Linked DNA regions of Homo sapiens: regions 2, 3 and 4 are each linked to region 1. The links are contacts of gene promoters, found by promoter capture Hi-C in human tissues and cell types (Jung and others, 2019). All regions are on one chromosome and are shown on one strand. The core of a region is centred on a gene start or on the middle of the fragment in contact, and the rest is flanking DNA. Distances in the headings are between cores, read along the strand shown. Region 1 holds the start of FOXB1 (forkhead box B1). Region 2 overlaps ANXA2 (annexin A2). Region 3 holds the start of LOC105370840 (a long non-coding RNA gene). Region 4 has its middle 130 kb from the start of ANXA2.

The links. The method cuts DNA at HindIII sites, captures the fragments that hold promoters and counts their contacts. A contact is called where the count stands out against the background at its distance.
Region 2: a contact is called between a fragment that was not itself captured here and the fragment with the promoter of FOXB1 in region 1, in 1 of the 25 tissues and cell types used here (liver).
Region 3: a fragment that was not itself captured here is called in contact with the fragment with the promoter of FOXB1 in region 1 in 1 of the 25 tissues and cell types used here (lymphoblastoid cells).
Region 4: a contact is called between a fragment that was not itself captured here and the fragment with the promoter of FOXB1 in region 1, in 3 of the 25 tissues and cell types used here (heart left ventricle, mesendoderm cells and spleen).

What each region holds. Positions count from the first base shown.
Region 1 is chr15:60,001,441-60,008,731 of GRCh38, reverse strand. It overlaps FOXB1 (forkhead box B1), which reads right to left and starts at 4,421. Exons shown (of 2, transcript NM_012182.3): 1 at 4,089-4,421; 2 at 1,288-3,825. The coding sequence starts at 3,768. The coding sequence ends at 2,791. RefSeq lists a silencer at 1,828-2,122 and enhancers at 2,129-2,248, 2,329-2,408, 4,225-4,740. The HindIII fragment of the contact is 14,342 bases long and covers 1-7,291 here.
Region 2 is chr15:60,343,644-60,350,934 of GRCh38, reverse strand. It overlaps ANXA2 (annexin A2), which reads left to right. Exons shown (of 13, transcript NM_004039.3): 12 at 1,738-1,860; 13 at 3,246-3,784. The coding sequence ends at 3,305. Among named protein-coding and RNA genes, the nearest start is that of ANXA2, 51 kb to the left of the region's middle. The HindIII fragment of the contact is 5,853 bases long and covers 602-6,454 here.
Region 3 is chr15:60,299,757-60,307,047 of GRCh38, reverse strand. It overlaps LOC105370840 (a long non-coding RNA gene), which reads right to left and starts at 1,131. Exons shown (of 3, transcript XR_932314.3): 1 at 1,093-1,131; 2 at 173-318. The HindIII fragment of the contact is 3,629 bases long and covers 2,873-6,501 here.
Region 4 is chr15:60,269,048-60,276,338 of GRCh38, reverse strand. No RefSeq gene overlaps it. Among named protein-coding and RNA genes, the nearest start is that of ANXA2, 130 kb to the left of the region's middle. The HindIII fragment of the contact is 3,771 bases long and covers 1,352-5,122 here.

The DNA.
Region 1 (7,291 bases), core at 3,172-5,671:
TTTGCAGGAAACTGTGAAAACATATTTAATTTTTTTTAAAAAAATGTATATGATTTCTTGTTGAGAACAAAGTTTTAAGAGTTTCCTAGCCCAGGGCGGTTAAGTTTTCCAGGCTTTCTTTAGCTGATCTTGTTGATATAATTGTGAATTGGGCTTGATGAATGAGTTTAGTTGTCCCCTGTCTGACGAGCTTTAGTAGCTTCATGCATTTTAATCAGTCCAATGATTCATTTATTTTCCACTTTTTTTTTTTTTGGCTGTGTGTGGGATCCTTCTTTTTAAAAAATGGTCAGAACAGGATTAATTACCCTTTGCATTAATCCTAAGTTGTTTTTCAGGTAGTCCTCTAAATATATAATGGTTGCAGGTGCTAAGGATCCTCCTATGAAGTACAGTGATTGTGGTTTCTATGTGGCTCCCTCTGTGTTGCACAAGGGTCTCTTGTTTAATCATTTTACACAGTAAAGTGTTAATCACCATTTAAGTTACTCTTTGCCTTGTAACTTCATTAGGTGAATACACATCTCATTCTGGAAATATTGTGACCCTTTCAATAAAGTGTCAGTTAGCCTTGCGCCATAAATTCTCGGCAAATTTTAATTCTCTGCAAAAATATGAAGAAAAGCAAGTACTTAAAGTCAGGCATTTGAAGTAACTTCATTCATATCTTTAAAATAAGTGCATCAAGCATTATCTTCTCAGAGGAAGGAGTGAAAGAAATCTGTTCAGTTCAAAGTGAACAGGTATCTGGACATGAAGGTGAACCTCTAGGTAATTTCTATTTAAAAAATTTTAACAACCGCAATAATTTAAAGGAGCAAGGAACTGAATACTCACACTAAATAAGATGCATCAGAATATAAGCATTGAGTAAGCAAGTCTGTTTTTACTTTTTAAGTCTCCATATTTTCTACCTGATTTCTACATAAGCCTTATATTTATAAGTGCTATATTTCATAAAATGTATATTTCAATAAAGACAAAAATACATATAAAATACTTATTGTTTCAAAAACAGGTTTTCTTTCACCACTGCACCTGTGCACCTGATCTTTAATAGAAATAGTCTGTTTCCTTTTTCCCTATACACAAATACCTTCAAAATTCTATCTGAATAATTTCTCCCACAATCTCCAAGTGCATAAGAGGAGGTTTGACTGTTTTCACAATATGATATGAAAAAGGCAAATTACTCAGTGTATTGCAGAAAGCATGTTTAGGGAAGCATTACATCCATCTTTTGCAAAATTATTTGTAGCAACTCTTCAAAAACACACAAAACTAAAATTTGAATTTACATATTTTAATGAGAAAATATTATTTGGACTAGGTCATAATTTAATGTAGACACCCTTTTTTTTTAAATCCTTTGTTTTAAAACAGGCATGCTGGGAACAAGAACATCAATATTTAAAATGCCACGCTAATTCTGTACAGGGAGGGAAAATGAAAGGTAAAAATTTTACAGCTCTGATGACACTACAACTTTTTTTTTTTTTAACTTAAGCAGGTCACACCAGAACAACAGTTCGTTTTCCAGCCAATTATCTAAGATTCTAAAGGAATACAGCAAACAAAAGTGCATTTTACACAGTGTATAATCATTCCTATTCACAAGTATTTACATCTCTTTGCAGCCCTTTAGCTTCTTGGAAAAGTTCTGGTAGCAAACAGAAAGACTTGTCCGTGGGAGAGCTATCCGGTGACATCCCTTCATGTTACCAGTCAGCTTATCTAAGTTCTTCCCGGGTTGCCCTTGATGCTTTCTTGGTTTGGGCTTATTTCATTTTCTTTCCTTCTTTTTTTTTTTTTTTTTTCCCAACAATAAAATAAATAGCTAAAAAGGTCTCTAAGTCATCGGAAAGTTAACATCCCAATTAACTTTCCCATCCCCACTTCCCTCCCTTTCTAAACCTGGCCAGAAATGAAGAGTAAACATTCACATTACAACAGGTACTTATAATGTGGGCTTTGCCCGTTCGTCCGCCTAGCAAGACAGATTCAAGTTCACTGTTTACATATTACTGGGCGCTTTGTAAACAATACAAGGTTACTTTTAGTTTTGTTTTGCTGTGTGAGGACGAGCGTCGCTTTCTCAGCTTGGCAGCCTCTTTCCTAACTCCCAGCGCCTGGAGCCTCTGGAAGGAAACAAAACCCCAAACAACAACAAAATCTCCGCAGAAGCCTAGGAGGCAGGGCCGCAACCCCGGGAAGCTGTGGTCGGCCCAGCCCCTGCCGGATGGGCGGAGGCGAGTGGGGTAGGAAGATTAGTGGCTCCTTTTTGCTGCAGATTTCCAAGACGTAAAGAGATCCGGCCCTCCCCTGCGCTGTTGCAGCCCTCGCGGGGAGGGGGTGTGGGGGGGATCTGTTCCTGGAAACATCTGAGGCAGTTTCTCTAGTCTTGAAACTGCGCAGAGTTCGGGGCTCCGCCGATCTGGGCGGAGGGAAGACGCGCTTTTCTCGGCGAAGAGGGGGTGACAGGGTTTCCCCCGCCGGTCAAATAGGAGGGGGTTTCGGGGCCTCAGGGAGGGGATGGTTCGGCTCAGGTGGCCCCGGCCTTCCTTGATGTGGGGGCGAGGACAACTCCCACGCGCCTCTCGGCCCATCTGCAAGTTTGTGTTTGGTCTCCTGGGTCCAAAACAAAGTTCTCTTGGGGCAAGGCGGGTTGGCCGAAGGTGAAATGAACAAGTTAGGGTGGCGGTCCCAGGTGGGGGCCGGCAGGACTGGGAGCCAGGGAAGGCGAGTGAGGTGGTGGGGAGGAGAACGAGAGGGGGCGTGGGCTCCTGCGGGTCAGTGCACCGCCACCGAGTGCAAGGCGGAGGCCGGGCTGGTGAGCGTTTCGCTGGGGGTGGCGGGGCTGCTTTGGCTGGTGGCTGTTTGCGAGGACGTGGGGCTGAGCGAGGGCGGCGAGTTCGAGAGCAAGGTGGGGATGGGCGCTGGCAGCGCAGGCAGCGCGGGCACGGCGGCCGGCGTGGGCTTAATGGGCACGGGGATGGCGGGCAGCGTTTGGCCCGCCGCGTGGCACAGCGGCTTCAACGGCACGCCGTAGGCGCTGTAGTCGCCACTCGCCATGGAGATGGGGGTGGCCGAGTCGATCATGCCGGCGGAGCCATACACGTGTGGCCAGCCGGTGCCCAGCGAGCTGCCCATGGTAGTCAACTGGTTGGGGAGCGGGTAGGCAGCGGGCACCGGCTGCATGGCGGAGAAGGCCAGCCCCCCAGGCATCTTGTATTCCCGCGCGATGATGTTCTCGATGGCGAAGGGGTGCTTGAAGCCCGAGGGCTGCGCCACGCCGCCCAAGTTGTAGGCGGCGGCGGGCATCTGTGGCAGGTGCGTGCCCGAGGCCGCCAGCGCGCTGAGCCGCAGCTTGGCCTGCTGCTGCAGGTACTGCGCCGCGTCGGCTGGCTTGCTGGGCGCCAGGTGGTCGGACTTAAGCACCTTGAAGCGCTTGCGGCGCCGCAGGAAGCTGCCGTTCTCGAACATGTCCCCGCAGCTTGGGTGCAGCGCCCAGAAGCTGCCCTTGCCTGGCTGGTCCGGCCGCCGCGGGATCTTGATGAAGCAGTCGTTGAAGGAGAGGTTGTGGCGCAGACTGTTCTGCCAGCGCTGCGTGTTCTCCCTGTAGTAGGGGAAGCGGTCCATGATGAACTTGTAGATCTCGCTCAGCGGCAGCATCTTCTCGGGAGAGCTCTGGATGGCCATAGCGGTCAGCGAGATGTACGAGTAGGGCGGCTTCTGGTCGCTGTACGTGTTGCGGCCGGGCCGAGGCATCTTCTTCCTCGCCCTCTTCTTGCTCTGGGTCCGCGCGGGCCGGCGGACTGCTCGGATCTGGGAAGGGGGTGGGTAATAGGGAAAGGTAGCATGGATGCACAGAGACACCGGCGGGGTCAGCCAGACCGAGTAACAGACTTCGGGGGTCGGGGGTGGGGCCTGCGGCGCTCGATCAGCCAGCGCCCGGACTCTTTCGCCAGCAACTTTGCGGGCTTAGTGGGCGCGGGAGGGGAAGCCGGCGAACGGCGCGAGGATAGCCGGGAAGTAAGTCGGTACTGGGGCCAGAATAGGGGGCAGGGACGGAACAGAGAGCTGCTCACCTTAAAGTTGCTTCAAGTTGCGCGTCCGCATCCGGGAGGACGCCGCTGCGCGCCGCTTCTCTCTCGGCGCGCACTCGACGCGCACTCCGCGCGCAGCGTCCGGGTCCGGTTGGACTCGGCGCGAACCTGGGCTCTTGAGCTCAGCCCCGCAGCGTCCCGTGCCGCCCGGTCCGCGACGCTCCTGGAGCGTCCTGCGGGCGGCCGAGCTCGGCTGCGGAGTCCCGGCGCGGATGGTGGCAGCGACGTGTTAGGGCTCCGGAGGGCGCTGCTGTGGGCTCCGCGTCTCCGCTGAGCTAGGTGGCTGCCTCCATGTCCTCCCTCGAACCATCTGATAGTTTTAAGCGGTGACAGGAGCAGAAAAGACCCCTGTAGCGGCGCTTCATTAATGTGCCACTTCTTAGCTATCATATGACAATCGCCTTGGGAGGAGGAGGAAGAGGAGGGGGAGCGGGGGCTGCAGAGGGAGGGGACTGAGCGAGAAGGGAGAGCCCGGCCAGCTCTGGTTTCTTTCACACCTATTTACATGGACACCTTGGCCAATAGGAATCACTTCCAGCTCAAGACTGGGCGAGGGGGAAGAGCCTCGGCCACTGGGCAGGCAGCTGGACGCGCCGGCCGGTGTGCGCCGTGTGAAGGTATGAGGAAGCGGCCGCCGCGGAAGAGGGAGCCAGGCGACCACTCACGTTCACAGATGGAGCAGCCGCGCGGATGATGTTTGACATGGAAATTGCTTGGCTGGGGTATTCTGTTTCCTCTGCGTTGTATCCGGTTTGTATCGTTAGGTAACTTTAGGCACGGCTTTCCCCTGAAGCCGACCCTTTTCCTGCGCTTAGCACTACCCGGGGTTGGTTGCATGGGTTATAATAATGAAAACACACCCTTGCCCCCCAGTCCCCGGAGAGTTAGGTCGAAATTTGACTTGACTTTCCTATGCAGCTGCTTCAGCTTTGTATAGTTAGTGTGTAGCTTTGAAAAAGTGATGGGGTTTACAAATACTTTCAAAATGTGATTGGACATCCCCATGTAAGAACCCATTTTGAATGTAACTGTATTGACCAAATTTTTAAAAATTAAAATAGTGTATCTGGGCGAAGAGTCCAGGTATTTGCTTTAAAAGTCCTCCGGGAATTTGGTTGGACACAGGATGGAGGCTCAGGAGCTGTTGGGGCAAATGTTGTGCGGACCTGGGGAGGGCCTGAGTTTGTTTGACACAGTTTATCACCAGGTAAGCCTCAGGGGCTCTCGCTTTTCCCAGGTGGTTTGAAACTTTAGGACTCAGGCACATCCTGGAAGTTTTCATTTTACACCCGGAACTCCCCTTCCCAGCCCTCCCACCCCCCCAACCTCCCACCCCCCATCCCCCAACTGCCGCTTTTTTTGGTATGGAGAACTTATTTAGGATTTAGAGTGTAGCAAAAGCCGCCTGCGATCCCACTAAGACAGCAGTATCTTCTACAACTTGGGGAAAGAACCATAGAGTTTTCCTTCTTGGGGAGCGGGGAATGTGCCTTGGGTCACTCCGCCTGGTGCGAGCAGCAGGCTCCCTTCGGTTCGGATTCGCCTTGGAAGGGTTAAATGAATCATTATTATTATTATCATTATCCTCATCGTCGTCGCTGCCGTCATCATCATCATCATCAAATTGCTATGAAATAAATAGTGAGTCGACCCCGCCTGCATGCACGCACTCTATAAGTACACACCAGGAGTTCCCACGGGTTTCTGCACATTCTCCGACCTTTAAGGTTTTTAAAAGACATTCATTTTACTGCGTTGTTAAAAACTCAATACTTACAGCCCACACAGAATCATCTTCAAAGTCCAGAAATGGGAGAACTTTTTTTTTCCCTAGACGTGGTGATCGTAGAGAATTCTGGGTGTTAAGTTTCAACACTTTAAGTGATATTAGAGCATTATTAGTGGAGCTGTTTGGGGTTAGCATAAAAAAGATCTTTCAGCGCGCGAATGCACACACACACAAACACACACACACACAACTTCATTAACTACAGTTTCGGAGGCGGTCAATAACTCACCAAAACGTAACTTAAACACGATGAATTTAGGAGATTAAACAATTTCATTAATATTGAAATGGCTCTGGCTCTGGGCTGCCTCGGTTGAGATGCAAGCGCACGTTTTTCAATATTAACAGAAGTGCTTGAAGAAAAGAATAATGTCACCTTCTTAATTCGGAAAAAATAACTGGGAGGAGGAGATGGGTGCGAGGGGCTGGGGGAGGGATGTTGACCTGTCTCTGGGGGTATGGCTCGAGAAGGGCAGATAAATGTATTGCCCTTCTCAGCAGATAAACCACTTGGACTCGGGTGGAACCTCTGCCAAGCTTTGGCCGGAGGCAGCCGTACTCATCCCAGCTACTCGCGCTTCAGGTCATAACGAGGTGCGGCGTTTGGGGGGTTACTTTGTGCGGCCAGATTCGGATCGAAGGTCCTGGGGAGGAAGGAGCTGGGGAGTCCAAAGAGCTGGGGAGCTTGGGAGATCCGTGATGAGGAATAGTGGGCAAGGCTTGTGTTTCCCAGAATGGAAAGGCGCTGGTCCACAGCTTTCCTGCTCCCGAGTACAGCTGGCCTCGGTACAAAACAGTTACTGTGGGCAAGGCAGGAGCGCTCCTGCTGTGGAAGGGTACCAGCATAGACTCCCCCAGGAATTTTTAGGATCCTCTTAGTAAATATGTGCATCCGTTCATACTGATACGTAGACCGATAAAATATCGTGGGCGGCTGGAATTGGGATGTAGATAGGAGTGAAAGCTCTGCTCCGTTCCCCCAGTGACAGCCAGGAAGATTCTTTTCTAACCGGCATGGGTGCGTGTTGAGGGTGGGGAATAAGGAGAGAGAAGTGTTTTCTTATTTTAACAATTGGCATTTTGTTGCCCTGCAAAGAGGCCATTGTATGCCTGTCGAAATCATTGCTCAGAGTAAACAGGAGATTAACTAAATTCTAAGAGTAAAAACGTTCGGGTTAAAAAAAAAAGTCTGAAGTTGGAATAAATCTTTGTCTATCTCCCCGGGAAAGTTGTCACCCCCAAGTTTGGAACATGCGAGGATACAAGTAGGAATTTGTGTCTGATGAATCTTTAAAGTTTGGCTAGTGTGGAGATAGGAGTTTGACGCATATTGCACACGACCAGGGTTACTTAAGTAAACCGAACCCAGTAGCACAAGTTTGCCTTGGATGAGGAG
Region 2 (7,291 bases), core at 2,279-4,778, 340 kb before region 1:
TCGTGTCTGATCCCTGCTTAGGTTTCTCCGTGATTTCTTCCTGTTACTGCCAGAGTCAAGACAAGCGAGGAAGGGAGCGATTATTAAGCACCCACTATACAGTGGACAAGTGCTACTATTTTACCTTAAATCATTGCATAACAACCTCTGAGGCTTATGATTATCTTCTTTATAAATGCAGAGATGGAGCTCAGAATACCTCAGCCTGCTTGAAGTTACACAGACAGATTTGAACCTGGGTCTATCAGACCCCAAAGACAGCCCCACAACCCTTCCCTAAACGAACCACCTCTTCCCGTAGACCCATCCCATTTTCTACACCTCAAGTGTGCCATGTGTTTTCTGGCTTCTAGGCTTTTGCATTTTCCTTCTGGAACATCTCCCTTGTCTGTGCTGCCTCTGCCATCTGTCTTTGAGTTCCATATCAAATAGCACCCCTTGGTGCCTTCGCTCTGATGCTCTGGAAGTAAACTCAGTGGTCTTTATTGCACATATCATTAGAAATGGCACAGAGCGATGATAGAAATGTGTTGGCATGTTCCCTCTAAGCCTGCAAGAGTCAGGAACCTCTTGTTACATATGGAGACTCAGACTGCTTGAACTGAGCCTTGCAGTAGTAGGTGCTCAGTATATATTTATTGAATGGTGGCATAGAGTGGGAGTCTGTGCTGACTACAGCCTGGTGTGTTTGGAATTCCCAGATGCTCTTCTTTCTTTTCTTTTCTTGTCTTGTCTTTTTTTTTCTTTCTTTTTTCCTCCCTCCCTCCCTGCCTTCCCCTGCCTCCCTGCCTTCCCCTCCCTCCCTGCCTTCCCCTCCCTCCCTGCCTTCCCCTCCCTCCCTGCCTTCCCCTCCCTCCCTGCCTTCCCCTGCCTCCCTGCCTTCCCCTCCCTCCCTGCCTTCCCCTGCCTCCCTGCCTTCCCCTCCCTCCCTGCCTTCCCCTGCCTCCCTGCCTTCCCCTCCCTCCCTGCCTTCCCCTGCCTCCCTGCCTTCCCCTGCCTCCCTGCCTTCCCCTGCCTCCCTGCCTTCCCCTGCCTCCCTGCCTTCTCCTGCCTCCTTGCCTTCCCCTGCCTCCCTGCCTTCACCTCCCTCCCTTTCCTTCCCCTCCCTCCCTTTCCTTCCTTTCCCTTTCCCTTTCTTCTCTCTTTCTCTCTCCTTCCTTCCTTCCCTTTTTCTTTCTTTCTCTCTTTCTTTCTCTCTCTCTCTCTGTCTTTCCCTCTCTCTCTCTGTCTTTCCTTTCTTATAGGTTTTTGGGAAACAAGTAGTGTTCGGTTACATGAATAAGTTCTTTCGTGGTGATTTTTGAGATTTTGGTGTACTTATCACCCAGGCAGTGTACACTGTGCCCTAATATCCCTTATCCAAAATGCTTGGGACCAGGAATGTTTTATATCTCAGATTTATTTTTGATTTTGTAATATTTGCATATATATGATGAAATATTTTAGGGATGGGACCCAAGTCTAAACTTGAGATTCATTTATGTTTTATATAGACCTTACACACATAGCCTAAAGGTAATTTTATACAACGCTTTTGATAATTTTGTGCATGAAACAGTTTGTGTTAAGTGCTGTATGTGGAATTTTTCATTGTGGCATCATGTCGGCACTGAAAAAGTTTTGGATTTTGGAGCATTTTAGATTTCAGATTTTCAGATCAGGGATGCTCAACCTGTAGACGCTTTCTTTAACGATAACATTCTCAGCGAATGTAACAAATATCAACTTGATTTTCAGGGCAAGGGGACGCGAGATAAGGTCCTGATCAGAATCATGGTCTCCCGCAGTGAAGTGGACATGTTGAAAATTAGGTCTGAATTCAAGAGAAAGTACGGCAAGTCCCTGTACTATTATATCCAGGTAAGCCCGAGGTGCAGTGTCAGCCTGCCCTGCCGTCCAGAGCACCCCGGGCCCTGGCAGGTGGCCTGGCAGAATGATGACAGAGTGGCGATTTTCTGTTTTCTGACTCTCTGGGGAAGAGATGCTAGTCATCAACTATCAGGGATTTATTTTGAAAGCACCATTTGTGATTTGTCCTGGACTTTGTACAATCAGGCAGATGTTTTATATTTTTCACATCTGTTACTCTACAATGATCATCGGTGTTCATGACGATGATCCTGCAAGGCTTGCTGACATCCCGAAGAGGCTTGGAAGATCAGTTACATTTTACTTTTTTTTTTTTTTTTGAGACGGAGTCTTGCTCTCTCGCCCAGGCTGGAGTGCAGTGGCCACAATCTCGGCTCACTGCAACCTCCGACTTCTGGGTTCACACCATTTTCCTGCCTCAGCCTCCCAAGTAGCTAGGACTACAGGCGCCCGCCACCACACCCGGCTAATTTTTTTGTATTTTTAGTAGAGACAGGGTTTCACCGTGTTAGCCAGGATGGTCTCGATCTCCTGACCTCGTGATCCGCCCGCCTCGGCCTCCCAAAGTGCTGGGATGACAGGCGTGAGCCACTGCGCCCGGCCACATTTTACTTTTATTATGCATTGGTTCCTTGAAAAATCCTCTGGGATAGGCCTAACAACTTTCAGTTATTCAGAACTCCCATCTCTCCAATCAGTTTAGCATCTGTCTGTTTTGATGTGATGTCGCATTTGCAGTAAGGAAGTGATGGCATTCACAGTGGTACCACTGTGTAGATTTCAGACAGCCCTTGCAATTCCCCTTTCTAGAAGTTCCTCAGATGTCCAAAGGCATGCCCATGGTTAGCAAGGATAAAGTTAGAGCTGGATTTTTTGTAGCCAGGTTTATTAGGGCACATGTTTAAAGTCAAAGGACCAGTTAGACTCTTAGTAATTGTTCCTCACCTCACCAGCTTATTTCCACTTGACCTTAATAATGCAGGAAATAGGAGAGTGAGCTAGGAAAGTACCCTGTTTTCTGTGGAAAGACGAGGACGAGAGAGGAAAGTTAGGGTGTTTGTAGGACCTTGCTGCAGTAAGAACAGCCCTGGTCACTAACCTATGTCAATCCTCAGCACCTTGCACTCCCTCCACCCCACAGTCCTAAGGAGCCTTGAGTGTCTTCCCCAGCACCTCCTCCGACCACACTCCTGGAGGCTTCCCTGGCAATGGTTTGGGTGTGGCCTTCCAGGCCTTTGTATCAGGGCAGGTCTCCTGCAGAGTCTTCTCTTTGTCATGGGAGAAGCTTCATTGTGCGTTGAGGCTACTTCTGTGTTATTGAGGAGTCTGGGCTTTTTTCTGATACCACGTTTCTTTTCTTTCCTGGGCCATTGTAGCAAGACACTAAGGGCGACTACCAGAAAGCGCTGCTGTACCTGTGTGGTGGAGATGACTGAAGCCCGACACGGCCTGAGCGTCCAGAAATGGTGCTCACCATGCTTCCAGCTAACAGGTCTAGAAAACCAGCTTGCGAATAACAGTCCCCGTGGCCATCCCTGTGAGGGTGACGTTAGCATTACCCCCAACCTCATTTTAGTTGCCTAAGCATTGCCTGGCCTTCCTGTCTAGTCTCTCCTGTAAGCCAAAGAAATGAACATTCCAAGGAGTTGGAAGTGAAGTCTATGATGTGAAACACTTTGCCTCCTGTGTACTGTGTCATAAACAGATGAATAAACTGAATTTGTACTTTAGAAACACGTACTTTGTGGCCCTGCTTTCAACTGAATTGTTTGAAAATTAAACGTGCTTGGGGTTCAGCTGGTGAGGCTGTCCCTGTAGGAAGAAAGCTCTGGGACTGAGCTGTACAGTATGGTTGCCCCTATCCAAGTGTCGCTATTTAAGTTAAATTTAAATGAAATAAAATAAAATAAAATCAGTTCCTGAGTCACACAATCCACATTTCGAATGCTCAGCTTTCACATGTGGTCAGCAGCTAGTATATCTGGACAGCGCAGGCAGGGAACATTTCGATAGAAAGTTCTGTTGGGCAGCAGTACATGCCCAGGGCATGAGAGGACCTATGGGGGAGAAAAAGGGTCCCAGAGGGACCCCTTATCTGCTTATCTTTCTACAGGTTAATTAGGTGAAAATAAGCATCAGGGGCAGCCACAAACTGGAGAGAGCAGTGGGGCAGGGTGGGGCAGGCTACAGCATTCTGGCAAAGGAGATCCAACACAAGCCGATGGGAAGCACGGAGAAGGGATTTCTTTTGACTGGGAGGATTGAGAAAGATGATAGAGAAAAGGAACAATTTGAGCTGCACACTAAAATCTAAGGTGAGGTTTTACAGCTGGGAGAAAGCACTCCATGCAGGTTCTTAAGGGTCTGGGAATGAATGACAGGTCGCTGATACAATGGTACACATGTCAAAAAGTTCAGAGACTTCTTTCTGTACAGGGAAAGTTATGTCTCTCCCTTACTAGCCAGTGGCCTTCCCTGGAGTCGCCTGGTTTCCAGTACATTTTCATGGATAGACTGCATACGCATGTATATATATGTATCTATCTGTGTTCATAAATGTGAAGGTGCTGTCCCCAGGCTGCTGGTACTGGGTTCTGCAGATTCCTTTTTATACAAGTGCTCCCCATAAGCAGGGTAGAGGGCTGGGAGTGAGGGGAAGTTGACTACTCCTCCTAACCCTTCTCCTTAGTGGAGGGTGTGTCAACTACTCATTTTTGGCACCTGGCTGATGCAGGGCCCACTCAGTCATCTGCAGGGACTAGGTAGGTAATGGAAATGAATGTATGAAATGGGCAGGTTGGACAGAAGTGGGGAATCTGGGGAAAATGGGGAATGCCTGCCTTGCTTGAGGCATTCAAATTCAATTCAAACAACAGTCGTAACAACATGGCATTGACCAAACCAAATACATCCGTGAGCTGATTGGCTGCTATTTTGGCCCTTTGGCAAACTTTAGATGGAAATTTGGATCGAGCATGGCTCTTGGGTCACTAGTGGCCCATAACGTATGTGAAAGGCCCCTGAGATAGTCCTTAAAAAGCAGGTTATGCAAAAATCAGGTATTTTATCAAATGTGTCCTGCCTATACATATTAAAATGGATGCCCCAAATCACAGAATATACTGTTCTGTGTGCTTGGGCAGAGTTCAAGGAACTGCCTAAGAAGCAGGACCTTTCTCATTAACCCCAAATTATACTGAACTCAGAATTGATAGGGCTGGGCAGAGACTGTCAGGAGCAGTGTTTCAGATCAGTGAACATTTAGGCATTGTTACCTCTCAATCATACGTGTGTTTCAGGCTGCAAAGGGAGCAGTGGTGTGGAGCAGACAAGGCCATGGGGTGAATATGGGGAAACTTACGCTCCCACTGTGCCCAGGACAGTCTGGCCACTGGTGTGGCCAACAGGTATGTGGGAAAGTTGAAAGGGCAGGCCAACATAGGAAAGGCGCTTGGAGAACTGTTTCAAACACTGTCTACTGTTTTTCCTCTATACAAAGCAATGGCAGTCCAGTGTTTTCCAAAACTCACAGCCAGGGCACTTGAATTTTGGTCCCATTTTCTTCTGGATTTCAGCCTGTCCTCTTCAGTCAAGCTGTCCAAACTGTTTCATGAATAAAGAGAACCATCTGGAGGTTTGACTTATTCTCCCCAGAAATTTTACTTTGCAAAGAGAAGGAAAAGGGTACCTGGCAGGCTGTGAGTTGGTAACAAGAACTTTGATTTTATTCTTTGAGGAATAAAAGGTAATTGATGCAATGTAGCTATGAAAACTTATTGTACTGTAACACTGTGATCAAGAACATGATTTTTTTCTCCCTGCCTTGGTGGGGCTGGGCAGAGCCATCATGTTGCACAACCCCAGAGAACACTCATCCTGTTGTAGTCTATGTGAATGATACCTCCCTTGGTGTTGTGCAGTGCACAACCTGTGCAGCCATACATGACAGCCCTGTATTGTGACCTAGGTGTGTGTGAGATGGTCTTTTCCGCCTTTTGCTACAGAGTTGCCCTTCCAGTTAAAAAAGTTAGAAGGCAAATCTTATTGAGAAACAAATGGGTGAACCCCGAAAGGTCTTGACTTCTCCATGGACTTGATCTTCAGACCAGTTTTACTGGGCTATGCACAAATGGCTGTATATATGAATCTTCCCCAGTATGTGAAGTTCCCATGGTATAAACTATTAGTAAATATAGCTACAGCAGGGAAAACCAGGCTCACAAAATGGCTACATTTAGCAAGACAAATGATTTGAGGACAGAAATCTTTTAAATCAATTTTTAGTTTTTAAATGACTCCCGTCTCCAGTCCTCTCCCTGTGTTTTGACAAACGGCTTTGGCTTCTTATCCACATCGGTTTATTTGACCTCCTTTTTCCATCAACTACCAAAATGAAAACTCTGCTGCAAGAGCGAGGAGAGAGAGTGCGAGCAATTTTAAACATCCCTTAGCAGTGAGGCAGAACATGCTACAGCCATCAAGTTCTAGTTGTTCATTCTATTTATTGAGAAAAGCTTGTAGCCCGATTTCTTTTACGCGAGTACATTTGAGCAAGCAAAGTTTATAGAGATGACTTACCTCATTACATTAGAAGAGTGATTTGCTATCTCAGCATCTATAAGCAATTTTAACAGACATTTCTGGATGAAGAAAAGCTTTTGTAAATATATGCGAAAGACACAATTTCATCAAGCATTAAATTGGAGGTGCCCTGGAAAAATATTACATTTGTGCACTCAATTAGCTTGATTGTGGCTGAATTTTGTCCACTGAAGGCAGCATTTCTGCAGAAAAACAGAAGCATTCCCTATGTCAGCAGGTTTCCTGAAACAAAAACACTTTCCCCTGAAACAAAAACACTTTGCCAGTCCTCTTTTGCATTTGTGCTGTTCCCAGCTCTGTGTCCCTAATCAGGCCTCTCGGTCTTGTTCCTCGCAGTAGAATGTTAGAGGAGAGGGAACCAGATAGAAATCCCTGACAGAAATCCAAACTCAACAATTCCAGCTTTAAATAGCCTGCATTCGGTGCAAAAGCTAGGCAAGCTCTGGGCAAAATTGGGAGGGAGTCAAAGGTAGACTTAAGTCTTCCTGGTCTCCTTACAGGGTCTGTAGGACAGCTGTGCCTCCTGCTGCTCCCAGGACTCTGGTGGCCTCCTTACTGCTCTGGGAAGGGCATCTCCCAGCTACTCCTTGGTATGGCTGTTAGCCCATGTCCTTTTCCCTGGGATGAGTCTGCAGGACCCACCCTATCTTCTATCTTGGAATGGAAGTTTTGTCCTCCTAGTACAGGCATGAGAAGAGTTAGGAAATGAATGGTTGGGGTACAAGAGGACTTTCTTGTGCCCCTAAAATCAGTGAAGGAAATGAGCTAAATATTTAGGGATGATCGTGGCCCTCCTCCAACACACCCCTGACCCCCTTGC
Region 3 (7,291 bases), core at 3,438-5,937, 300 kb before region 1:
TTGAATTTGAGAACCTGCTCTTCTCCCAATTGACTTCCAAAATGCTGGCAGCCAGTTTCTACTTCCAGGTATGAGATTAGGAATTTAGTATCTGATAAATCTGACTAGTCCAAAAGAAAAGACCCTGTGTTAACATTGGGAGTTGTCCTATGAAACAATCCAGCCAGATTACCTGGGGTAAGACCCAGAGTTGGCAACCCAACTCATATATCAGAACTTCCAATCAGATTTTTAGTGCTGTAGTCTTAAAGGTGAACAGACAGTTAAGGATCACTAGACATTTGAGGATATCTTCACTCTGAAAGGAAATACAAACACCTAAGAAAAGAAACAAAAAAATAAATTTGAGAAAATAGAGAGAATTCAGAGAGAAGAAAAAAATTAAAGTAAGATAAGAGATGATTTTGCATCCACAAAGCAAGAATAGAATGCTATAATAAAGAAATAATCAGAAGGCCAGGCGTGGAGGCTCACACCTGTAATCCCGCACTTCTTGAGGCTGAGGCAGGCAGATCATGAGGTCAGGAGATCGAGACCATCCTGGCTAACACGGTGAAACCCCATCTCTACTAAGAATATAAAAAAATTAGCCAGCCATGGTGGCAGGCACCTGTAGTTCCAGCAACTCGGGAGGCTGAGGCAGGAGAATGGCATGAACCTGGGAGGTGGAGCTTGCAGTGAGCCAAGATCACGCCACTGCACTCCAGCTTGGGCAACAGAGCGAGACTCCGTCTCAAAAAAAAAAAAAAAAAAAAAAATCAGAAGGACAAAAACTAGAAGGGTCTTGGGAAAAAGTGACACAAATCAGAAGCTCCATATAAAATTTGGAAAATAAGATTGAGGGAATCTTCTAGAAACTAGATAGAATCAGATGGCAAAGAAATGTAAACTAGGATAAAAATATAAGAAAATTAGGTCAGATTAAGAAGTCTAACACCTGAATAACACAAATTCCTCAAATAGAGAATTGAGAAAATTATCAGATAAATAATTCAAGAACATTTCTTAGACTTGAAGGACATGAGTTTTCAGAATGAAAACAACCACCAAGTGCCTAGCAAAATGGATGAAAATAGATCCATATCAACTCACCTGATACGGTTTGGATCTGTGTCCTTACCCAAATATCACGTGGAAATGTAATCTCCAATGTTGCAGGTGGAACCTAGTGGGAGATAATTGAATCATGGGGGCAGTTTCTCATGGTTTAGCACCATCACCCTGGTTCTGTTCTTGTGATGGAGTTATCATGAGATTGGGTTGTTTAAAAGTATGTGGTACCTCCCCCTTCTCTTTCTCCTGCTCTCACCATGTAAGATGGGCCTGCTTCCCCTTCGCCTTCTGCCATGACTATAAGTTTCATGAGGCCTCCCCAGAAACAGATGTTGCCATACTTCTTGTACAGCCTGTGGAACCATGAGCCAATTAAACCTCTTTTCTTCATAAATTACCCAGTCTCAGGTATTTCTTTATAGCAATGTGAGAATAGACTAATACATTACCTGATGATAATATTTATGAACAGTAAGGACAAAGGAGAGGTCCTAGAAGCTTCCAGAGAGCTGAAGGGAAGGTTGTATTCAAAGAATCAGAAATCTGAGTCACTTTGGATATTGTATGTGCTCTCCAACCTAGAATGTGATACCCAGCCGCAATATCAAGTAAGTGTAAGGGTTGAATAACTTTTTTCAGACATGAATGGCCTCAAATATTTTACCTCTCCTACAGCTCTTTCTCATAAAAAATTGAAAGAAATGTTCTTTCAAAACAAAGAAGTAAATAAATGATTATTGTGTTAGTTAATACTGAGTGTCAACTTGATTGGATTGAAGGATGCAAAGTATTAATCCTGGGTGTGTCTGTGAGGGTGTTGCCAAAGGGGATTAACATTTGAGTCAGTGGGCTGGGAAAGGCAGACCTACCCTTAATCTGAGTGGGTACCATCTAATCAGCTGCCAGCACAGCTAGAATACAAAGCAGGCAGAAAAACGTGAAAGGAGTAGACTGGCCTAGCCTCCCAGCCTATATCTTTCTCCTGTGCTGGACCCTTCCTGCCCTCCAACATCAGACTCCAAGTTCTTCAGTTCTGGGACTCGGACTGGCTTTCCTTGCTCCTCAGCTTACCGATAGCCTATTGTGGGATCTTGCAATCATGTGAGTTAATACTTAATAAACTCCCCTATATTATAGGATGTACATATATATCCTATTAGTTCTGTTCCTCTAGAGAACTCTGACCAACACAGTTATGAAGATATAGCATGTCAGAAAAACGGAATTTATTATAATAGGGGTGTGAACACAATTTTCAGGATGATGGTAAAGGGAGACTTCTAGATGAATCTGTGTAATAGACCAAGAGAGCAGCCAGAAGATTGGAGCAGGTCAGAGAGTTTAGAAAGAGATAATTCCAAAATAGAGAACTGGCAATATCTGAGTATATTGAAAGGAAAATTAGGAAATCAGGAAAGAGTCTGAAGATGATGTAGCAAGAGTTCATAAAAAACAAAGCAAACCAGAAAAAAAGCAAAACAAGAAAACCAGATAAGTATGAACTCTAGAGAAAACAAAAACGGGAGAAATAAAAAATTATTCTGATATATTGCATTGCTAAGCCAAATATATCATTCATATAATCATAATGTAAACATTGAATAATGATAAAATCAAAATTACGATAAAAATGTTGGGGGAATAGAGGCATGGCATGTATGCCCATGTATGGTCTGTGTGTGTGTGTTGGGAAATAGGGGCAGCGAGAGAGCTAAATGCATATTTTCAGTAGGGAAAACCAATAGGTAATGCCTAAAAATAAAAACTCAAAAGAGAAATTTTTACTTGCTATTAGAAATATGAAGGTGTTGTATTATTATTATTTTTTTCTAATTTGGTCCTGAGGTCTCTCTCATGAGAGTGGCAATAAACTCTAGCCCTGCCCTGATGGGGCTCTAGGGATTTGGTCATGGATGATTACAATGTTCCTTTTAAGGGATACTTCTTTATCCTGGCAATGACCTAATGCCCAAGTGTCTGACCCATGACCAGGTGTCCCTCTCATAGAAAACTTCTTTACACTGGCAGACACCAGTGTAAACAACCTGGTGGCTTTTTGACTTATGTCCAGTTTATTCCTACAAGATAGCCATTCCCTAGAAGAGCCCTAACTGGGAAAGAAGCTCAGGTGTGTCAGTTACATGCGACACAGAAGAGGAAGCAGAACAACACACATGAAATAACAGGCAGTTCATTACTTACAGATCCCAGAAAGAAGATGGAAGCATGACTAGTGGGGCCAATGGGTAGTGGGAGAAGTGGGGAGGCATCCAGGACACTCAAGCTCAACTAGCAGATGGGGAGCAAAAGAGAAAGAGCAAGAGATCTGTGGGCCAAAGCTGGTACCGGGGTTCAAGGTATTACCCGGGCTGGTTTCTCTTGGGGAGTTCTAATTCGTGTGTTTAGAGCAACCAGCACAAATTCCCTGGGGTCACATTATGACTTAAAACTGGTCACTGTGGCATATTTTTGCAGTCATGTGGGGTGAGAGGGTCAGTGGAACAAGTCAAGTAGGTTGTATCTGGCTGTCCCATAGGGAGGTGGTCACCAGGAGGTGGTGGTATAAGGGAGATATTTGGATCAACCACATTGAGGAATTGGGAAGAGGTAGAGAACAGGAAACTTTGTCAAGGGTGTCTAAGCCCTGCCTCTGGTGTGAGAATGTCCAACTTATATTCAAAAGGATGCTGAAGTTGGGCATGGTGGCTCACACCTGTAATCCCAGCTACTTGGGAGGCTGAGGCACGAGAATCACTTGAACCTGGGAGGCAGAGGTTGCAGTGAGCCAAGATCATGCCATTGCACTCCAGCTGGGGTGACAGAGTGAGACTCCATATCAAAAATCAAAAATAAAAATAAGAAAAACAAAAAAACAAAAAAAATAGAACGCAAAATGTATGCTGAGGCAACATAAAATTGTAAGAATTCACTACAAGAGGTAAATACCAAAATAAATAGCTAAAAGTCTTTACTGGAGTGGAGGGAAGGTTGCGGGAGAACAACTGTTTTCCATTATAAATAGCCCTTGTAGAACTATATGGCTTTTTAAACTGTTTGCATATATAATTTCAATTAAGGTAAAAACAAACACAACAATGAAAATACAATAGAAATGAGGTATCATTAATTGGGACAGCAAGCTTTCTCAACTTCTGAAAAGTTGTTTGGGGAAAGATTAAAAATATTTCAGGGCCAAGTGCGGTGGCTCATGCCTGTAATCCCAACACTTTGGGAGGCCAAGGTGGGCGGATCATGAGGTCAGGAGATCGTGACCATCCTGGCTAATACAGTGAAACCCCGTCTCTACTAAAAATACAAAAAAATTAGCCAGGCATGGTGGCGGGCGCTTGTAGTGCCAGCTACTCGGGAGGCTGAGGCAAGAGAATGGTGTGAACCTGGGAGGCGGCGGAGCTTGCAGTGAGCGGAGATAGTGCCAGTGCACTCCAGCCTGGGCGACAGAGCGAGACTCCGTCTCAAAAAAAAAAACAAAACATACTTTCGGAAGACAAATTCTCGCCTTCACTCTTCTGAGCTGGTAGAAGTAAACTAGTTTGTGAAAATTTTCGCAACCTACTCATCTGACAAAGGGCTAATATCCAGAATCTACAATGAACTCAAACAAATTTACAAGAAAAAAACAACCCCATCAAAAAGTGGACAAAGGACATGAACAGACACTTCTCAAAAGAAGACATTTATGCAGCCAAAAAACACATGAAAAAATGCTCACCATCACTGGGCATCAGAGAAATGCAAATCAAAACCACAATGAGATACCATCTCACACCAGTTAGAATGGCAATCATTAAAAAGTCAGGAAACAACAGGTGCTGGAGAGGATGTGGAGAAATTGGAACACTTTTACACTGTTGGTGGGACCGTAAACTAGTTCAACCATTGTGGAAGTCAGTGTGGCGATTCCTCAGGGATCCAGAGCTTGACATACCATTTGACCCAGCCATCCCATTACTGGGTATATACCCAAAGGACTATAAATCATGCTGCTATAAAGACACATGCACATGTATGTTTATTGCGGCACTATTCACAATAGCAAAGACTTGGAACCAACCCAGATGTCCAACAATGATAGACTGGATTAAGAAAATGTGGCACATATACACCATGGAATACTATGCAGCCATAAAAAATGATGAGTTCATGTCCTTTGTAGGGACATGGATGAAATTGGAAATCATCATTCTCAGTAAACTATCGCAAGGAGAAAAATCCAAACATCGCATGTTCTCACTCATAGGTGGGAATTGAACAATGAGAACACATGGACACAGGAAGGGGAACATCATACTCTGGGGACTGTTGTGGGGTGGGAGGAGGGGGGAGGGATAGCATTAGGAGATATACCTAATGCTAAATGACGAGTTAATGGGTGCAGCACACCAGCATGGCACATGTATACATATGTAACTAATCTGCACATCGTGCACATGTACCCTAAAACTTAAAGTATAATAATAATAATAATAAAAAAGAAGTAAACTAGTTTGTTGCTGCGAATATCTGAAATAATAAAAATTCCTATGGCCTTGCATAGCTTTTTTTTCCCCCAAAAGTAATGTGGAGAATATATGTTTAGTTTACCTAGGCCCCTTTCTTGCCTTCTCCTGGTAACAGCACATCTTATTTTTGGAAATGGCTTTATTTAGATTTCAACCAATACTGATGGATGCTTCATGGTTCTTTTTCCTGGGCCACAGAGATGGACACATGACTGAGTCTGAGCCAATCATCATTTAGGCTCCCCTGGTCACATGACTAGCCCAGGAATGGGCACATGACTCACATAAGGCCAATTAGGTCCCTTCTTTTTCCAACTGAAACTGCTGGAGAAGAGCAGGGTTTTTGTTTTGTTTCGTTTTGTTTTGTTTTGAACTCTTGTCCATGTGGCTAGAGAGATAAAAGCCTAGACCACCTGTAGCCATATTTCCATTGTGTGAGGTCAATTGTTCAGAGAAGTTGAAGCAAATATTTAGATAGATACAAAGAAGAGAAAGAGGATTGCAGGGAGAATGGCCTCAGCTCACCCTGAGTCTCGCTTCATGTCTGCCCTTTTCATAGTTTGAATTCAGAAACCAACAAATCCATCCCCCCCTTTTCTGACAAAGCTGGAGTTGGAGTTTTGTCACTTGCAATCAAAGGGTTCAGACCAATCCTAGTAGCGATCATGTTTTGTATTAGGCAAGAAAAAGTTTTCCACATTCGAGAAGATGGCATACAGACATAATTATATCTATGGGGTACATGTGTTATTTGATACATAAATACAATGTCTAATGATCAAATCTTAAGTTTTTTTAAACAATAGGGATTACAGTATTGAAATATCTCTCAGATGAGACTGAAAAGTAACCTGATGGTTTGATGCTGGATATGGAGCTACACTGTGTCAACCCCAGAAGTAAGAATGGTCAGTTTTTGCTGTTTGTGCTCAGCTAACTTTGATTCAATTCAAAATGCCAAGTTATGCATTTTAGAGTCAATAAAAAATTATACTTAAAGAGTTAAAAACCACGTTTAGGGTTTAGTGATGATCTTCTGGACACTGTGTTAGATTGGCACTTGAAGAAATTCAGAATAAGTATAATGTATAGTTTATGCCCTCCTGTAGCTTAAGATCAGTTAGGGAGAGATGATATAAACTTGTGAAACATTTCATTATATAGCATAAGATCTGTAGGCACTCACCCAAAGAAGTGAGCTATTCTTTGGGTGCAACTTCTGGCCGGTTTAGTCTAGAACTTTCTTGTAAGTCTCCTCTGTGTAGACCATCATTCCCCCCAACCCCTCTTTTTCTTTCTTCTTTGCCTGGGCTCAAACCCAGGCATGGGGCCAACGACCTCAGCAATGAATGGGATTAGAGCAGCTAGCCAGCTTTTTCAGGTTAGACTGTAAATGAACACCCTTGGTACAGACATGAGGCCAAGGAACTCTAGTGCTTTGTTAGGAAGAAAGTGAAAAGCTCAGCTCTCCCGTGGGCCAGAAATGCTGAGCCTGCAGGATCCTCAGCGAAATGTAAGAAACTGGTTCGCAATGGCTTGACTCCTCCACGATGGCCCTGCTCTCATCAGATGCTTTTCCTGTTCCTACAGGCAGGCGTCGCCCAGAGGAGGAGGGGATGGCAAGGTGCCAGCCGTAAATAATGAATAGCACCCTCATTTACATTCTTTTTTAGTGGCGCCTGTTTGCACGCAGCATTGCAGGAACCTAGAGCCCGAGG
Region 4 (7,291 bases), core at 1,988-4,487, 270 kb before region 1:
GAAAATTTTACCAGAAAATGAGAATTTATAAAACATAATTAAGTGGAAATTATAAAAATAAAAATATAGTAAGTGAAATTAAAAGCTTCATATATGGATTTAACAGCACATTAGACTGTGAAAGAGATGAGCAATGAACTGGAAGACAGGTCAATAGAAAATATTCGGACAAGAACATGGAGAAAAAATGTATAAAATAAAGCATAAATGTAAGAGACATATGGAACAAAGTGGAATATTTTCAGTTAAAATTTATAAATGAAAAGAGGGAGATAATGTGGTAGAACCAATGTTTGAAGAGCTACCAAGCAAGGTTTCCAAAAATGAGAAAAGATATGAAGTCAGCTAAAATTAAAAAGGTTTATGAATCCCCAAATAGAATAAATTTAAATAAAATTCATCTAGGCCCCTCTTAATACAACTGTAGAAACCAAAGGCAAAGAGAAAAATCTTAAAAGCAACTACAGAAAGAAATTATTTCAACAAACAACGATAAGACATACAGCTAACTTTTCAGCATGAATAATGGAAGTCAGGAGTTAATGGAATGAGGTCTTTAAAGTACTGAAAGGAAATAGGAGCATTCCGGAATTATATATTGAGGAACAAGAAAATAAATGAGCTATCCAGCTGTGAAAAGACATGGAAGAATCTTAAGTGCATATTCCTAAGTGAAACAAAACAGTGTGAAAAGGCAACAAACCGTATGATTCCAACTACATGACATTCTAGCAAAGATAAAATTGCAGAGACAGTAAAAATATCAGTTTTGCCAGAGGGTTTGAGGGGAAAATGTCAGAGGAGCGGGGATACATAGGTAAAACAGAGAGGAATTTTAGGGTGGTGGAAATATTCTATGTGATACTGTAATGGTGGATACATGACATTATGCATTTGTCAAAACCCATAAAACTATACAACACAAGGTGTGAATCTTAAACTACGGACTTTAGTTAATTAACAAAAGTCACCAGATATTTCCTTTGATCAATGCCAGACATTTATTAAAATGACTCTGATCATATCTGCATACATGTACCAATTTTGGAGGGGTAAGGATGGAATGAATTAAAATCAGGCAAAAAATGAGTTAAGTGGTTGGTTACATTAAAAATATCGTGCACTTTGAAGTAATTTGTTGTCTTCTGCCTCAAATGATTTGTGTGTAGAGACAGAATCCAAAAGGCATCTATTTATTGATATGATCAGGTACAACAGATTACCAGCTGATATTTTCTAAAAGAGTCCATGTAATCTTCAGAAAGCTTAATGAATTTGAACACTAGCAATTTAAGGCCCTTTCTAGTATTGCATAACTTATCACCTCGATTTAATTCTGAATTTTAGGGCCTTTTGCTTTTATCTCCTCTGCAAACTGCCTGTCTTTAACTGTTTTACCTTTTTCACCTTGGCAGCGATACCTAAATAGAGCACAAGCTTGCAAAACCAGACAGTTGTGCTTTTTGTCAGAAGCACTGGAAAAGGCTGAGGAGAAAATAAAACACTGGTATGGCTCTTAACCCTGGGTGGACATTAGTTAGAATCATTTGCAGAACTTTTAGGCTGCACCAGTACCTGGGTTCCACTCCCAGAGAATTTTATTTAATTGGTCTGCAGTGGGGCCTGTATATCAAGGGTTGAGGATGGAGTCTCGCTCTGTCGCCCAGGCTGGAGTGTGGTGGTGTGAACGTGGCTCACTGTAACCTCCACCTCCTGGGCTCAAGCGATTCTCCTGCCTTAGCTTCCCAAGTAGCTGGGATTACAGATGCCTGCCACCATGCCTGGCTAATTTTTTATTTTTAGTAGAGACGGGGTTTCACCATGTTGGCCAGGCTGGTCTCAAACTCCAACTTCAAGTGATCTGCCCGCCTCGGCCTCCCAAAGTGCTGGGAATATAGGTGTGAGCCACCGTGCCTGGCCTGGACTGAGCCTTAGGTCTGAATTTTAATATTCTTTTTATGGTTCTATTTTACTAATACCATGATTAGTCAAAATAGAGTTCTATGAGTGTTTAAGGATTCCAGCTTTGGAGTTAGAACAGGGGTTGTAATCCTGTCTTTGCCATTAATTATTGGCCATGTGATTATTGGCAAGGTGCATCCTAAAGCCAATTCTTCCCCACCAAAATGGGAAAATTTTTTTTCAGTGTGAGAATTATATGAAATAATAAACATGTAATGGGAATGGTGTTTTTAAAATGTTAAATCAGTATTGTTGCCAAGATCATAATTGTCTTGTGATTTCCCTTCCATCGAATTAATGGCATTTACTTCTTCACAGGGGAGCATGCAGTATCTAGGAACATCTTTGATTTTTGTGATGGTTAGTATTGAGTGTCAACTTGATTGGAATGAAGGATGCAAAGTATTGTTCCTGGGTGTGTCTGTGAGGGTGTTGCCAAACAAGATTAACAGTTGAGTCCGTGGACTGGGCGATGCAGACCCACTCTCAATCTGGGTGGGTACCATCTAATCAGCTGCCAGCACAGCACAGCTAGAATAAAGCAGGCGGAAGAAAATGGAAAGAGCAGACTCGTTGAGTCTTCTGGCCTTCATTTTTCTGCCATGCTGGATGCTCCGTGACCTTGAACATCAGACTCCAAATTCTTCAGCTTTTGGACTCTTGGACTTACACCAGTGGTTTGCCAGGGGCTCTCAGGCCTTTGGCACTCCCAGCCCCTAAGGAAGCCCAGGGAATCCATTTCTGACTTTATCTCACTGGGACCCTTGGGGAGGGTTGTCAGTGGAACTGGGGAAAGACCACAGAGAGAAGGAAACTTCCAGCTGAAATTTGTAATAATTTTGACCATGTGTGAATTTTCCAGGGCAGAATCTGGAAGTTGGGGGCTGAATGGGAAGTGCAGATACAAGCGCAGAAGCAGTGGTGGGGAAGGGCGAAGCCTGAAAGCCGTGCTTGCTTTCTCAATGAGGAGGCTTGAAGCCTGGGTCAAGATCTCAGGCCTGCTCACCAGCTGCCTGGATATAAACTCAGTGCTGTTGGAGAACACAGTGGGAGTGAGACTGGCCTTTCTGTCTGTGTGGGCTTTGATTGAGGCCTGTCGCTGCTGGCTTTCCATCACTTCCCTGGCAACCTGTGTGATGCAGCAGAGGCAGCCACAATCCCCATAGGAGCATAACTCCATTGGCCTGAGAACCACATCCCCATCCCCCACAGTGGCCACTGCAAGCCCTGCCCAAGGAAAGCCTGAGCTCAGATCCCCATAACCCTATCCCCACCTGACGATCTTTCTCTATTGCCTTGGTAGCTGAAGAAAAAAGACATAATCTCTTGAAAGCTCTATGACCCTGCCCACTGCCTGGGAATACATATCTGGGTGACTCTAGAGCAAGCTTGTATCCTCCCTATACTACCACAGCTGATGCTCTCTTGAAAGTGCCACCTCCTAGCTGGAGGCCAACTAACACAAACCATTACAGCAACCCATGAAAGAACAACCCTGTCCCAAGAAAGGAGAAAGCAGCAGCTAACTCCACCACCTGCAACATCCTGGCTACCACCAGAGGTCCTAATTCTGTCTACGTGACACCTTTACTACCAACACAACCAGCATCCAAGAAAACTAGCACGCTAAACAAAACTTCAACCAAAGACCCTCACAGAGTCCACTTCATTACTCTGCTACCTCCACTGGAGCAGGTGCTGGTATCCATGACTGAGAGACTTGAAGATGGATCACATCACTGGGCTCCTTGCAGATACTCCCCAGTACCATCCCAGAGCCTGGTAGCTCCACTGGGAGGCTAGACCCAGAAGAGAAATAATAATCACTGCAGTCCGGCTCTCAGGAAGCCCCATCCCTAGGGGAAGGGAGAGAGCACCACATCAACGGAGCACCCTGTGGGAGAAAAGAATCTGAACAGCAGCCTTGAGCCCCGGCTCTTTCCTCTGACATAGTCTACCCAAATGAGAGAAACCAGAAAAACAATTCTGATAATATGATAAAACAAGGTTCATTAACATCCCCAGAAGATCAGACTAGTTCACCAGCAATGGATACAACCAAAGAAGAAATCTCTGAATTGCCAGAAAAAGAATTCAGAAGGTCGATTATTAAGCTACTCAAGGAGGCACCAGAGAAATGTGAATATCAACTTAAAGAAATTTAAAAATGGTACAGGATATGGATGGAAAAATCTCCAGAGAAATAGAGAGCATAAATAAAAAACAGTCACAACTTTTGGAGATGAAGGACACTATTGGGGAAATGCAAGATACACTGGCAAATTCCAACAATAGAATCAAACAAGCAGAAGAAAGAACTTCAGAGCTCTAAGACAAGGCTTTCAAATTAACCTATCTGACAGACAAAGAAAAAAGAATTAAAAAATGAAGGCCAGGGCTGGGCGTGGTGGCTCACGCCTGTAATCCCACCACTTTGGGAGGCTGAAGCAGGTGGACCACAATGTCAGGAGTTCGAGACCAGCCTGACCAACATGGTGAAACCCCGTCTCTACTAAAAATACAAAAATTAGCCAGGCATGGTGGCACGTGCTTGTAATCTCAGCTACCCAGGAGGCTGAGGCAGGAGAATCACCTGGACCCGGGAGGGGGAGGTTGCAGTGAGCAGAGACTGCGCCATCGCACTCCAGCCTGGGTGACAGAGCCAGACTCTGTCGCAAAAAAAAAAAAAAAAAAAAAAAAAAAAAAATGAAGGCCGGGCACAGTGGCTCACACTTGTAATCCCAGCACTTTGGGAGGCTGAGGTGGGCGGATCACCTGAAGTCAGGAGTTCAAGACCAGCCTGACCAACATGGAGAAACCCCCTCTCTACTGAAAATACAAAATTAGCTGGGAGTGGCAGTGCATGCCTGTAATCCCAGCTACTTGGGAGGCTGAGGCAGGAGAATCACTTGAACCCAGGAGACGGAGGTTGTGGTGAGCTGAGATCACACCATTGCACTCCAGCCCGGGCAACAAGAGTGATACTCCGTCTCAAAAAAAAAAAAAAAAAAAGAACAAAACCTCTAAGAAATTTGGGATAATATTAAATGACCAAACATAAGAATAATTAGTGTTCCTGAGAAAGAAGGGAAATCTAAAAGTTCGGAAAACTTATTTGAAGGAGTAATTGAGGAAAACTTCCCTGGCCTCTCTAGAGATGTAGACATCCAAATCCAAGAAGCTCAAAGAATACCCGGGACATACCTCGGAAAAAGATCTTTGCTTAGGCACATAGTCATTAGGTTATCTAAAGTAAAGACAAAAGAAAGAATCTTAAGAGTTGTGAGGCAGTATCAAGTAACCTATAAAGGAAAACCTATCAGATTAACAGCAGATTTCTCAGAAGAAATCCTACACACTAGAAAGAATTGAGGTCATATCTTTAGCCTCCTTAAACAAAACAATGATCAGCCAAGAATTTTGTATCCAGCAAAACTGAGCTTTATAAATGAGGGAGAGATATAGTCTTTTTCAGACAAACAAATGCTAAGAGAATTTGCCACTACTAAGCCAGCGCTACCAGAACTGCTGAAAGGAGCAGGAATCATGAAACAAAACCTCGAAATACACCAAAACAGAACCTCCTTAAAGCATAAGTCTCACAGGACCTATAAAACAATAACACAGTGGGGGGGAAAAAAAAACACACCAAGGTATTCAGGCAACAACTAGCATGATGAATAGAATAGTACCTCACATCTCAAAATTAATGCATAATGTTAATGGCCTAAGTGCTCCACTTAGAAGGTACAGAATGGCAGATTGGATAAGAATTCACCAACCAATAAGTGCTGTGTTCAAGAGACTCACCCAACACATAAGGACTCATATAAACTTATGGTAAAGGGGTAGAAAAAACATCCCATGCAAACGAACACCAAAAGCGAGTAGGAATAGCTATTCTTATATCAGACAAAACAGACTTTAAAGCAACAACAGTTAAAAAAGACAAAGAGGGACATTATGTAATGATGAAAGGACTAGTCCAACGGGAAAATATCACAATCTTAAATATATATGCACTTAATACTGGAGGTCCCAAATTTATAAAACAATTGTTACTAGACCTAAGAAATGAGATAGATGGAAGCATAATAATAGTGAGGGACTTCAGTACTCCACTGATAGCACTAGGTCATCAAAACAGAATGTCAACGAAGAAAAAATGGATTTAAACTATATCCTAGAGCAAATGGACTTAACAGATATTTACAGAACATTCTACCCAACAACTGTACAATATACATTCTATTAATCAGCACATGAAACATTCTCCAAGATAGACCATATGATAGGCCACAAAACAAGTCTCAATAAATTTAAGAAAATCAAAATTATATCAAATACTCTGTCAGACCACAGTGGAATAAAATTGGAAATCAACTCCAAAAGGAACCCTCAAAACCATGAAAATTCATGGAAATTAAATAATCTGCTCCTGAGTTATTATTGGGTCGACAATGAAATCAAGATGGAAATTTTAAAAAGTTTTGAACCGAACTATGATAGTGACACAACCTATCAAAACCTCTTGGATTCAGCAAAAGTGGTGCTAAGAGGAAAGTTCATAGCATTAAATGCCTACATCAAAAAGTCTCAGAGAGCACAAATAGACAATCTAAGGTCACACGTCGAGGAACTAGAGAAATGAGAACAAACCAAACCCAAACGCAGCAGAAGAAAAAAAAATAACAAAGATCAGAACAGAATTAAATGAAATTGAAACAAAAAAAGTTACGAAAGATAAATGAAAATAAAAGCTGGTTCTTTGAAAAGATAAAATTGATAGACTGTTAGCGAGATTAATCAAGAAAAGAAGAGAGGAGATCCAAATAAGCTCAATTAGAAACGAAGTGAGAGCTATTACAACTGATACCACAGGAACATGAAAGATTATTCAAGACTACTATGAACAATTTTATGTGCACAAGCTTGAAAACCTAGAGGAGATGGATAAACTCCTGGAAATATTCAACCATCCTAAATTAAAGCAGGAAGAAATAGAAATCCTGAACAAATAACAAGCAGCGAGATTGAAATGGTAATTTAAAAATTGTCTCCAAAAAAGTCCAGGACCAGATGGATTCACAGCTGAATTCTATCAGACATTCAAAGAAGAATTGGTACCAATCCTGTTGACACTATTCCAAAAGATAGAGAAAGAGGGAATCCTTCCTAAATCACTCCATGAAGCCAGTATCACCCTAATACCAAAACTAGGAAAGAGCATAACAAAAAAGGAAAACTATAGACCAATATCCCTGATGATCATGGATACAAAAATCCTTAACAAAATTCTAGCTAAATGAATCCAACAGCATATCCAAAA